Linked DNA regions of Homo sapiens: all the other regions are linked to region 1. The links are contacts of gene promoters, found by promoter capture Hi-C in blood cells and fetal thymus (Javierre and others, 2016). All regions are on one chromosome and are shown on one strand. The core of a region is centred on a gene start or on the middle of the fragment in contact, and the rest is flanking DNA. Distances in the headings are between cores, read along the strand shown. Region 1 holds the start of NDUFS1 (NADH:ubiquinone oxidoreductase core subunit S1). Region 2 holds the start of CUL3 (cullin 3). Region 3 overlaps WDR75 (WD repeat domain 75). Region 4 holds the start of OSGEPL1-AS1 (OSGEPL1 antisense RNA 1).

The links. The method cuts DNA at HindIII sites, captures the fragments that hold promoters and counts their contacts. A CHiCAGO score of 5 or more calls a contact.
Region 2: the fragment with the promoter of CUL3 here is called in contact with the fragment with the promoter of NDUFS1 in region 1 in 1 of 17 cell types (erythroblasts); the score reaches 6.8 in erythroblasts.
Region 3: a fragment that was not itself captured here is called in contact with the fragment with the promoter of NDUFS1 in region 1 in 1 of 17 cell types (total CD8 T cells); the score reaches 9.8 in total CD8 T cells.
Region 4: a contact is called between the fragment with the promoter of OSGEPL1-AS1 here and the fragment with the promoter of NDUFS1 in region 1, in 1 of 17 cell types (activated CD4 T cells). The highest score is 5.4, in activated CD4 T cells.

Annotation. Positions count from the first base shown.
Region 1 is chr2:206,158,038-206,160,786 of GRCh38, forward strand. It overlaps NDUFS1 (NADH:ubiquinone oxidoreductase core subunit S1), which reads right to left and starts at 1,407. Exons shown (of 19, transcript NM_005006.7): 1 at 1,304-1,407. It overlaps EEF1B2 (eukaryotic translation elongation factor 1 beta 2), which reads left to right and starts at 1,858. Exons shown (of 6, transcript NM_001959.4): 1 at 1,858-2,022; 2 at 2,551-2,673. The coding sequence starts at 1,943. RefSeq lists enhancers at 1,085-1,494, 1,605-1,864 and a silencer at 2,125-2,194. The HindIII fragment of the contact is 3,079 bases long and covers 248-2,749 here.
Region 2 is chr2:224,583,965-224,586,713 of GRCh38, forward strand. CUL3 (cullin 3) reads right to left here and starts at 1,399. Exons shown (of 16, transcript NM_003590.5): 1 at 980-1,399. The coding sequence starts at 1,045. RefSeq lists silencers at 863-1,122, 1,453-1,872. The HindIII fragment of the contact is 1,789 bases long and covers 384-2,172 here.
Region 3 is chr2:189,444,051-189,446,799 of GRCh38, forward strand. All of the region lies in intron 1 of WDR75 (WD repeat domain 75), which reads left to right. Among named protein-coding and RNA genes, the nearest start is that of WDR75, 4.0 kb to the left of the region's middle. The HindIII fragment of the contact is 711 bases long and covers 1,056-1,766 here.
Region 4 is chr2:189,761,409-189,764,157 of GRCh38, forward strand. OSGEPL1-AS1 (OSGEPL1 antisense RNA 1) reads left to right here and starts at 1,372. Exons shown (of 2, transcript NR_102429.1): 1 at 1,372-1,584. It overlaps OSGEPL1 (O-sialoglycoprotein endopeptidase like 1), which reads right to left and starts at 1,384. Exons shown (of 9, transcript NM_022353.3): 1 at 1,277-1,384; 2 at 12-252. The coding sequence starts at 232. It also overlaps a transcript of ANKAR not described here and a transcript of ORMDL1 not described here. RefSeq lists enhancers at 867-1,026, 1,313-2,059. The HindIII fragment of the contact is 3,776 bases long and covers 1-1,459 here.

The sequences.
Region 1 (2,749 bases), core at 157-2,656:
ACTGCAAGCCCCGCCACCCGGGTTCACGCCAGCCTCCTGCCTCAGCCTCCCAAGTAGCTGGACTACAGGCGCCCGCCACCACGCCCAGCTAATTTTTTGTATTTTTAGTAGAGACAGGGTTTCACCGTGTTAGCCAGGATGGTCTCGATCTCCTGGCCTCGTGATCCGCCCGCCTCGGCCTCCCAAAGTGGTGGGATTACAGGAGTGAGCCACCGCCTCCGGCCTTCAATAGCTTAACAGGTCACCAAGCTTCCACACTATTCCCACACAGCCTCTCCCCTCTTGCCACCGGCTGTGACCTCAGACTGAAATGCTCTTCCCTGGCCCCTCCTTATCCTTCAAATCTTGGCTTAAAAGCCTTTTCTCAGTTTCATTGACCAGGCTATCTAACATTTACGATTCCCCCAGCATATCATCCATTTTATTCTTCTTTACGGACTCATTTCTGGCTCGTAGTAAATGTTCAATAACGGTTAAGTGAACTGAATCTCTAATTTCTGGTCGTTAATTTGTAGAGACCACTTTCCCGGATTTAAAAAGTGCAGGTGCTCTGGCAGCCTTAAGTCGGTGAAAACAAGAATATTCCGCAAAACAAAAATAACTTGTTTATTCATCAAAAACAGTTAACGTTACACTTCTATACCGTCAATTCGTGTGTGAACAGAGTTGTGTCTGATCCAAGACCTTACAGTTCAAGCACTGGATCCCAATAACCTGTAAACAACGTTTTGTTATTTGCAATGCAATCCTGGGCTAACTTTTCAAAAGTCGTTTTTCTCAATTTCCCGTTAGTTAAAGGAATAAAAAAATGCTGTCCAACGTGGTCAATGGACCAAACAAACAAGGACAACAAACAGAAGCGTGAGCCATTGCTAACACAACAGCGACCAAACAATCATGCACTGTATCAGGCGTGTAAAAATCTGGGGGGAAAGGCTTAGTCTTAAGGCCTAAGTCATCGGACACTGGTCCTCTCCCGGGGAATAAAACGGCCTCCTCCTCTGAGAGGGAAATGTCCTGAATTTTCCCTGCAGAGGGAAGGTCACCTGCAAGCCTACATTCGTGACAGCGTTCCCGAGGACCCCCTGATCCTCATCTTCTTTTCTGCTTCATCAGACCAGAGACCGTGGCTAAAAGCCCCCCATCTGCCGGCTCTCAGGGGCTTCCGAGGCGGCGGGGCGGGAGGCGGCGCCCAGTCAAGGACAACAGAAGACTACGTCGCGTGGGCCAAAGGAAACAGTCCCGTCAATAAATAAGCCTCTGGCCGACGCACCTCACCCTTCCCATCCATACAAGACCTCACCTTCTCCCCGGAGCCGCGGAGGCTGTTCTGCTAAACTGTCTGGACCACGACGACCCCCTAGGAGGCCGGGTCGCTTATTCAATATGGCGGCCTCGGCTAACTCTGTCAGCCGGGCCTGGAGAACGGAAAGCCCGGAGGGACTAGAATCCTTGCATTCGACAAGTTTGTCGGCAATTTCCGTCAGCCGACCAGAGGGCGGAGCTGAGGTCGGCCCAGCCCGGAGGCGGGAAGGACAACTTGGACCCGCAGTTCCGCCGGAAGTGGCCCCAGCCTCGAGGCCGGGCGTCTTCGGTCATCTCCGGCGCTTCTAGGGCTGGTTCCCGTCATCTTCGGGAGCCGTGGAGGTACGAACTTAAGACATGCCTATTTTATTAATTTACTTCCAAACGCAACGAAAGGTCCATGGACAATTTGTGGGCCATTTAATTCAGGGCCCCCAATTCGTACGTGGAGAAGTGGGAATGCAAAAGTACTTTGACCTTTAACCTTCGGTCCGGCGCGGTGGAGGGAAACGCCTCCGTCTCTATATAAGGAATTTTCCGGTCTCTTCGGGTCCTTTTTCCTCTCTTCAGCGTGGGGCGCCCACAATTTGCGCGCTCTCTTTCTGCTGCTCCCCAGCTCTCGGATACAGCCGACACCATGGGTTTCGGAGACCTGAAAAGCCCTGCCGGCCTCCAGGTGCTCAACGATTACCTGGCGGACAAGAGCTACATCGAGGGGTGAGCGGACGGGCTGAGTCGGGGTGGCGGGGAGGTTTCTCCGCCCGGGGCCGGGGCCACGTGGCGCAGCGTGTCGGCTGCCGCGGGAGGGAGGGAGGCCGGGCCCGGGGCCCTTTCGAGAGGGAGGGGAAAGCGCCCCGTTGCCGTCTCCCAAGGCCCTCGTGTGGGGCGAGCCCGGCCTCCGGGGAGCGGTTCACGAGCAAGGAAAGGTTAAAATGTGCTTTATTTACACTTAATTCAGCCAGGTGTTTCCGCATCGCTGCCCAGTTAATACATGTTAAGCTGTAGATAGAGCAACGCCAGACATTGCAGTATTTGAGGTCTACTTAGTGGCAGACATTTCTCAGGATAGCGCGGTGACCCAAACATATGGTTTGATTTGAAGGAGCTAATAAGAAAAGAAAAGCATTAAAGCAACCCTGCTGGGGTTAGTGCCCACTAATTAATGTGATGCATACGGTATTTATTATTTATTCGCTGGCGTTTGTTTTTCAAAGGTGTGTGTGAATGTTTCTGTGTCCTTGGCAGGTATGTGCCATCACAAGCAGATGTGGCAGTATTTGAAGCCGTGTCCAGCCCACCGCCTGCCGACTTGTGTCATGCCCTACGTTGGTATAATCACATCAAGTCTTACGAAAAGGAAAAGGCCAGGTAAAATCATCTTTGTATAGAGCTGAAGAATAAGACTGCTCTCGAAGTTTATCAGGATGTTCACATGACAAAACTG
Region 2 (2,749 bases), core at 149-2,648, about 18 Mb after region 1:
AGTTCGTCTGTCTTGACGTATGCCTTTTATTGTAGCGACATAGGCAAGTATGCCCAGTTCGTTAACAGTACATTTTAATTGCTTGCCACGGGGAAGCTGAACCAGATTTGACACCCAAAGTTATATCCTATATACTAAACATCGCAAGGGTACGACTCAACGTAATGCCAAAAAAGAAAAAGTTTCTGAGCAGAACACGTTTGCTGTCACTGAAAGCGATGAAACAAAGCTACTCCGCAAGGCGACTACACTCATTCTTTGGGCTCCCAAGGCTGAGAAATGGAGAACCAATTGGCCGGTTTGCTCTCTGTTGCTTCCCCCCCACCCGGCCTTCCTCCGAGTGGCGAGGCAATCCTGCACAAGAGTTTGTAAAGTGCTTAGGAAGCTTGTAGGATGAAAGACGCTATAAATACACCCAATGTTACTAGTTTATGACCACGGAGCATTCCGTGGAACCACTGTCACTGCGTCGGGGGCAGGTTGATGGCATAGACCTTCCTGGGGAGGGGGGCAGAGAGAGAGGGCAGCCCCTTCATCACCCTAAAAGCTAGGCTGGGTAAATTTTCAAAGTGTAGCGAAACCCCACGTGAAAAGTTCCACACACGCCCCACACAGGGAGGACTCCGCGGCTGCTAGCAGCGCCGGAGACTGGGCCTACAACCCCGGCAACGTGGGGAGGCGTGGGGCGGCCGAGGGGCCCCGGCCGCAGCCGACGCCCGCGGAGCGGCTGAAGGAGCAGCTCCCGGACGGGGGCGCGGCGCCAGGCCCGGGCTCCCGGCGCGGGGAACGGCCCGGGAGGGCGGCCGCGCCGGGGCCCCGCGCCGCCCGGTTGCCGGGAAGGCTCGCGCCCCGCGGCCGGCGGGCGTGGGGGAGGGGAGGCCGGGCCTGCGGCCTGTTGGGGGACTTCAGCCCGGGCCTCGCGTGCGGCTCTCGGCCCGGCCCCCGGCCCCGGGGTCCCGGACGCCGAGGAGAGACTCACCGGAAAGGCCCGGATCCGCATCTTGGTGTCCTTCCGGCTGCCCGTGCCTTTGCTCAGATTCGACATGGTGCTCGTCCCCTCCCCGGCGGCGGCTTCAGGTCGCGCTCCGCGACGCCGGTGTCACATTTAAGGCGGGCAGGCAGGCTAGGGGCGACGCTGGGGGCGGCGGCGGCGCGACCCCCGGGCAGGGCTGGGGAGCTGGCCGGCCCCTGGGCAGCCGCGGCGGCGGCGGGGGCGGCGGCGGCGGCGGCGGCGGCTCGGACTCTGGCGACTCCGATGCGGCTGGGGGGCTGCGCTGGCGCGGCGGCTCCGCGGGGTCCCCCTCACGTCCGGCTCGGCTCCCTTTATCGCGCTCCTCCGCGATGGCGGCGGCGGCGGCGACGGACAAACATCTCACTGCGCAGGCCGAACGTCGTCCTCCTCCTCCTCCTTCTCCTCCTCCGCCTGAGCGAGACGAGATCCGGCCCAGAGGGTGGAGGGGGGAGGAGGGAGGGAGGAGAGCCGGAGAGTGAGAGATGCCGGGGGAGGGAGGTGGGAGGACGGGAGGGGGAGCCCGGCGGCCGCCGCGGGGGACGCTCAGATCTCGCGAGAAGAGGGCGAGCGCGCTGCCCCCCTGGTGGGCGGGGCGAAGCCCGGGAGAGGGTGGGCGCCACCGGAGGGGAGGAGGGGAACAGGGAACTGAAGGAAGTGGGAGGGGCCGGCGGGGCGGGGAAGCGGAAAGGGGGCGTGGCTGAGGGCGGGAGGATTAAGCTGCCTTTTTGAAAGTGGAGCGCCAGGTCCCGGGTTCTGGGTGGAGGTGGTTGCTGATTGGTGGAGCTCGGAGCGGCGGTTGGGAGGGTCCTGGTCACATGGTGGGGAGTGGGAGGGGGGAAGTTCGGAGAGCGGGAGCGGGATGGTAGTGGGCTGGGCCCCACTGGGCTGGGACAGCAGGAGGATAGTCTTGAGGAGGAGCGTGGGGTGCTAGATGTGTAACTACGTCCCGAACTGGTTCCTGTGTTTTTCTAGGGCATGTGGACTAGGGATGGGTACTTGAGTAGAAGCCTGCAACTTGAAGAGTTTGTGCAGGAGTTAGCTGCAGTGTCGGAAATTAGTGTCCTGTATGCTCAACAAGGTATTCGGACTGGGTGTGCACACCACAGCTCTCAGGACTGGAAGGTGGAAATTTAATCTACGAAGTTCCCTTAAACTGCATAAGCTTCGGGACCTCTTGATTCACTGATATTTTCTGGTGGACCCAGGGCTTATTCATGTTAAAACCTGTTTTTCATTACCATCAGAATAAACTGACAGCTCCATTAATGAAATGCAGCATTTGGTAAATAATGTTAAGTGGAATGATAGAAACCTATCTTTAACCTACCGGATAAATCATTTCTACCATTACCAAGAGTATTGTAGATTTTTAAAGCCAAAATTACCGTCTGATTCAGTTGCTGTATATTTGAAAAGGTTTTGGCTTTTGGTTTTGGAGGAGAGGCGTTTGGTCGCTTTATAGTCAAAATGTCTAATTTGACTTATCGGTTTTGCTGTCCATTTGTTATGAATTGTACTTCCTCATTTACCTACTTGCCCAATTGCTGTTATGTTTGGGTTTCTGACTCTGCAAGGGAATACGTGAGTTCTTATTAAAGTTTGTGTTCTTCCTATTTTAAAGAAGCATATGTTTGGGGGATGGATATCTACATTTAGAAGCTGGAATTTTAATACTTTTAAATAGCAAACAATATAAAGTGAAATACACTTATTTGTTGACTGTAAGGTTGAATTTGC
Region 3 (2,749 bases), core at 161-2,660, about 17 Mb before region 1:
AGAAATTCAGGACTGAAGTTTGGAGAACTTGGTCAAGATTTAGAGATTTTTTTTTTGTCATCTATATATAAGCTAATAATTAAAACCATTTATCTAACAAATGACAGGATTTTAATGAACTCAGCAAAGATTTGAATATTATCTACAAGGTACCACAAGGGATTGGCTGCCTTATACAAAGAGGAATAATTTTGTATTTTACCTCAAGGTGCTTATCAAGAAAGCCAAAATCATAAAAAGACAGACTTGTGGAATTTTGGCGGCTTCCTCTTGAAACTAGAACAAAAACTCTGTTCTAGGTACTTGAGTAGGTTGTTCTGAGGGGCATGTGGGTATACATGTAAGTTCCTGGTGTTCCCATATTAGATATTACTGACTCTCAGTCCAGTTCTGTTTGCATCCCATTCTGCGGCATCCCACAGTTATATGGTGCTGTGAATTATTGCACTGGGGTTGTTAGGGTAGAGAAAACTGAAACAATGAGTCATCCTTGCCTTTCACTTTCCTAAATTGCCCACAAGCTAATGTCCCAAACTCAGTATTTTTCCCTTACAGATCATTCTGAGTATTGCTGCTGTAACAATTTTCCTAAGTTGTTACTGTTATAACATTATTACTCTAACTCTTATTTCTAGTCTTGCTCTGAACTTTTTAACAGTTTTTTGTTGCCTCCTTAACTATAGCTCCTCTATATGGCTTTCAATCCCTTCTCTGATATAGCTCAACTCTTCCTACCCAACTGTTTCCTGATACTACCCATTATAGACACTTTGCTTGTCAGATAAGTACATTATCTGTGTCTTGTATATAATCATACCATTTCCTTGCTCTTGCTTATGTTGCTATTTTTTCTTCCCACCCCTTAAATCATACATCCTTCAGAGTCTAGTTTAAATCTTGGTTCCGACTTGAAACATCCCTAATTTCTTACTTCTTCACTTTCTCAACAAAGATGAATCCTATGTGACAGGTGTTGTGGTGGGTGCATTACACACCTTCCAGTCTACAAGGTTAAGGTATTATCCCTATTGAGTGAGTGCTTGCTGTGTATGCTAAGCTTGTATTTGCATGCAATGTTTCACTTAAACTCTATGAGAACGTGTTATTTACATTTTACAGTGGCTAACTGTAAGTGGAGATGTGAAGTTTAAAGAGGTTAAGTAAATTCTCCAACATCATTCAGCTAATACATAATAAAGCTGACATTCGAATCCATTTGTGTTTGACTTATTATTGTTTCTAATAAGTGAAAACACAGTGTCTCACCTCAAAGACTCACAGTCTGGTAGAGGAGAAACATAGTACACAGACAGTCTTAATGCCTTGTGGTAAGTTCTGTGATGGAGCTAAGCCCACCGTCGTGTAGAAGCACATTAGGACGGGTGCTGATCTAGAATGAGAAGATGAGGAAGGGCTTCCGGGAGAAAATTCTGAGCTGAATCTTAAAGCAGTAGTCAAGAGTTCTGAGAAATGGGAAAGACTGAAAAACTGTCACTGATTGGAAGGTTCTGAGAAGATATGACAACTAAGGTGGTATGCTGGACTGGGGTCTAGGAACATAAAAAAGACATTAATGGAAAAAGTGAAGAGCTCCAAATAAATTATGTAGTCAATAGTCATGTACCAGTGTTAATATCTTAGTTTTGACTAACATGCTGTGCTTATGTAAAGTGCTAACATTTGTGGAAGCTAGGTGAAGCGTATGCAGGAACTCTGTAATTCTTCTGTAAATCTAAAATTATTTCAAAATTAAAAGTTAAAAAATAAGCTTACTCTTAGGAAATAAAAAAGAAGTAATTAGAAAACGTGTTCTATGTAGATAGCAGAGAGTGCAAAACCATGGAGAGAAAGTTGACTTTGAAGGGTTGCGTTTAAGTAATTGAAGCCATTGTTCTATGCTGAGAAACAAGAAGAGAGGATATTCCTTTTTTCTGAGGAAGCTTATCAGAATCAATTAGGGAAAGTTTTCTTGGCCAACAGTAGCCCCCTACCCACCACTGTCTCAAGGAAGCCATATCTAAAGGACCTCTTCATATTGATAGGGTGTGTCTGGGGGATGGGGGAAATTGTTGGAGTTATGAACTATTTTAATAGAGCACAGTGTTAAGTGAAAAAGTAGTTCAAGTTAGACTGGGATCAGACTACCAAAGCCTTAAGAATTTAGATCATTTCCTAAAGTCAGAGGGAAAACAGTGAAGGATTTTAGCTTTATCTGAGCAAGTAATATGGTCAAATTTGCAAAATTAGTCTGGTGTGACTGTGAAAGCTGCATTGAAGGACTGTACCTGGAGACTGTAGGAAGCCCTGAAGAGTGGCCCAGGCTGGAGATGTTAAGCTTCTGAACTGAAGTACTCATGGGAATGGAGAAGAGGCTCCAGCCAAAGGGCAGGTTATATATCGCAAATGCTTTGTTGCTCATACATTCTTGATCTTATACCATTTCATACAACCATGCCTCCTGGCTGACAGCACTTACAAGAGACCATTGATTATAAGATGCATTCTAATTTCAAAGAGATGAACAAGTGAAAATCAAGTGTCTTGAACTAATAAAATAGGATAGTAGTGGTCCCAGTTTGCAACAAATTTAGTGTGTTGTAATACAGTAGCTCTCCCTTGTCCACAGAGGATATGTTCCAGGACCCTCAGTGGATGCCTAGAACCACAGGTAATACCAGACACTCTATATAGTAAATGTTTTCCTATACATACATACCTATGATAAAGTTTAAGTTATAAATCAGGCACA
Region 4 (2,749 bases), core at 122-2,621, about 16 Mb before region 1:
TGTCTACTTACTTTAAATGAACTTCAGTTTGGGAATGTATTGCTTCTCCCAACACATTTCCAGTTTCATCCACCACAGCAGCTGCTGTATCATCACAACTAGTTTCAATTCCCAATACTATTTTATGAAGAAATAGTGTTCCAGGATGAAAATTAAAACTTCTTAAAAATTCATAAACTTTCCTTTTTGATGGTTTAAAAAAAACTCCTGCAGTCTTAGTCAAGATTAGCATACTTACTCTATAGATAATTCCTGAAAAAGAATTACAGAAACAACTTATTATTTGCAACTGACATTAGCCAGCTTATTTTTCAATATATAGTTTTACAGAATTACAGGAAAGTTTGTAAAAGTCACCAAAAGTTTGTAAAGGCTATAGCAACATGGGAATATAAATAATATTATGAATGAATATAATGTTCTCCAAGGGGGAAAACAGGGGTCAGATATAAAATTTTTTAGTATTATTATTACTTGCATGCTGTTCCTACCAAAAGACTTACTATTAAGACAGCTAATATAAAGTACAATAATTGATAGAGTCCTCTGAAAAGTGCTATTTATTTTTTGACAGCTAAAATTAAGACAAAATGTGGATTTTCTAAAAAGAATCAAACAACAAAGGCAGATGGAACAGATAAAAATACTGTTAATGTATTCCATCTCCTAAAAACATCTTTCAAAATAAAACTGGATCATTTGGTTCAAAAACAAGAGTTAACATAAACACACACACGCCAACTGCAACCTAACACCTATTTTATCCTTAATTGCAATCTTTGGAATTAAATCTCCACTTTTTGCTACAGGTTTTGTCATAACAAGGATCTTCCCAAATCCTTTTCCCCCAAAATAATAGCAGCCCATCACTAAAGCACACTAGTATTTTCACACTGCGAAGCACCTAATTTTATGCCCCCAGATCATCCGTTCTAAAACTTTCTGGGTGTTAAAGCAGGGCCTTTCTCCACCACACTAAAGGGACACGGCATCCCAGGGATTAGAGATGAGCGACCTATTTGCAGAAGGCAGTTGCGGGCAGTGCAGCCCAGACAGACACAACCTAGAGGAATTAGATTTGCATTAACAAAATCTGGACAAGGAGGATTGTACGAAGCACTACCCTTTCGGGCCAAGAAAGCTGCAGGCTGAACCCACGTGACTTGGGTAGCGCTGGTCTCCTGTCGGCTGTAAGGCGGCGACGGGCGCAAACTGGAACCGCTTTTCCAGGTGCGCAAAAGCGTCAGTGGGGTGAAGAGTGAGCAATTTCACCCACCTTCCACTTGGGCGGCAGTAGCTAGCACTTGTCTCCTTTCCCTACTAAAGACTGTCGACTGCCCTTATCGCTGCAGGAGAAAGCCCGAACCTGGCGCCCGGAAGTGATGTCATCGGAACTGTGCAAGGTCCCGTCCAGAGCTGGCTGCTGTTCCGCTAGCGAGCGGCATGCTTAGTGAAGAAAAGCTTAAAGGCCGTCTTTGCCCAAAACGCTCTCTGTGCGCACCTGCATTTCCCCCAGATTTGCAGGTGATGAGAGTTCTGTAAAATTACACAGCTAGTGACTGATCCAGCGGAGGCCGAATACAGGTTTGTCTGACTACACAACATCAAGTTCCAAACACTAAGCTACATTAAAAAGAAATTTTTTTTTTGCCCTTGGCTGGAATTTGGTTGCTACTGTGAGAAAAGGATGGGGTAGATTATTCGTCATTCATTTTTAAGGGAACTATCATCAAATCTAAACTTAGGGGTGAGGTACCTGATACTTTCATCGGAGAAATAGGATGGAATCTAGCGGCGCCCCCTAGCAGGGTTACCAAAGAACGGAAGTGTTTCTCATCGGACAGTGTAAACCGTTTCTCCCACTTCACTAGGAAGAAAGGGGCTGGCTTATTTTTACAATTAAAAAAAAAAAAAATCGGGAGACTGAGGCAGGAGAACTGCTTGAACTGGGACCCGGGAGGCGGAGGTAGCAGTGAGCCGAGATCGCGCCACTGCACTCCAGCCTGAGCTACAGAGCGAGACTCTGTCTCAAAAAAAAAAAAAAAAAAAAAAAAAAGGCTGTGGTAAATATTCAGTTGCCTTAAACCATCCTATTTTCATAATGCATTATGTTGTCCTTCCTTACTATGTACATGAAATTCAGCATGGTATGTTTTCAAAGTCTTGCACCTGCTTTTTTTTTTTTTTTTCTTTTATTGGTTTGTGAACTTTGTTTTGAACATTGGACAGATTTATTCCAAGAGTCAGGCTTTTCCCCTGCTGGTATTTAAGATTTTAGTAAGCAAGGACCTTAGAATCCACTGTTGTACAGGGCTGGCATATATACCTGCACTTTGCACGTTGTGAAGCTCTGGGTATAAAAGATGAGTAAATCCCATAACAACATGTTGGGAAGCCACAGAGTACAGTCTAGAGGTGGATACAGATAAATAAGTAAATAATTACCAGAATATGGTTGAGGTTTTTTATTTGGAACTTATGTTTTTCAAAAATTTCATTTATGTGTAACAATAATGATAAAGTGGCACTATGTACCAGGCACCTGCTGTAGATTAATTTCTTTCAAAATCCCATGAAATAGTTTCTGTCCTCATTTTACAGGCAACTGGGCCACAGAGTTTGGGTGCTTTGGAGGTCACACAACTAGGAAAAGCAAAGCTAGGATTAGAAGTCAGGACATCTGGCACTGGAGTCTGTTTTCTTAACTGCTAGAAGAGAAAATAACTCACATTTTCTCTAGGGTGCACTG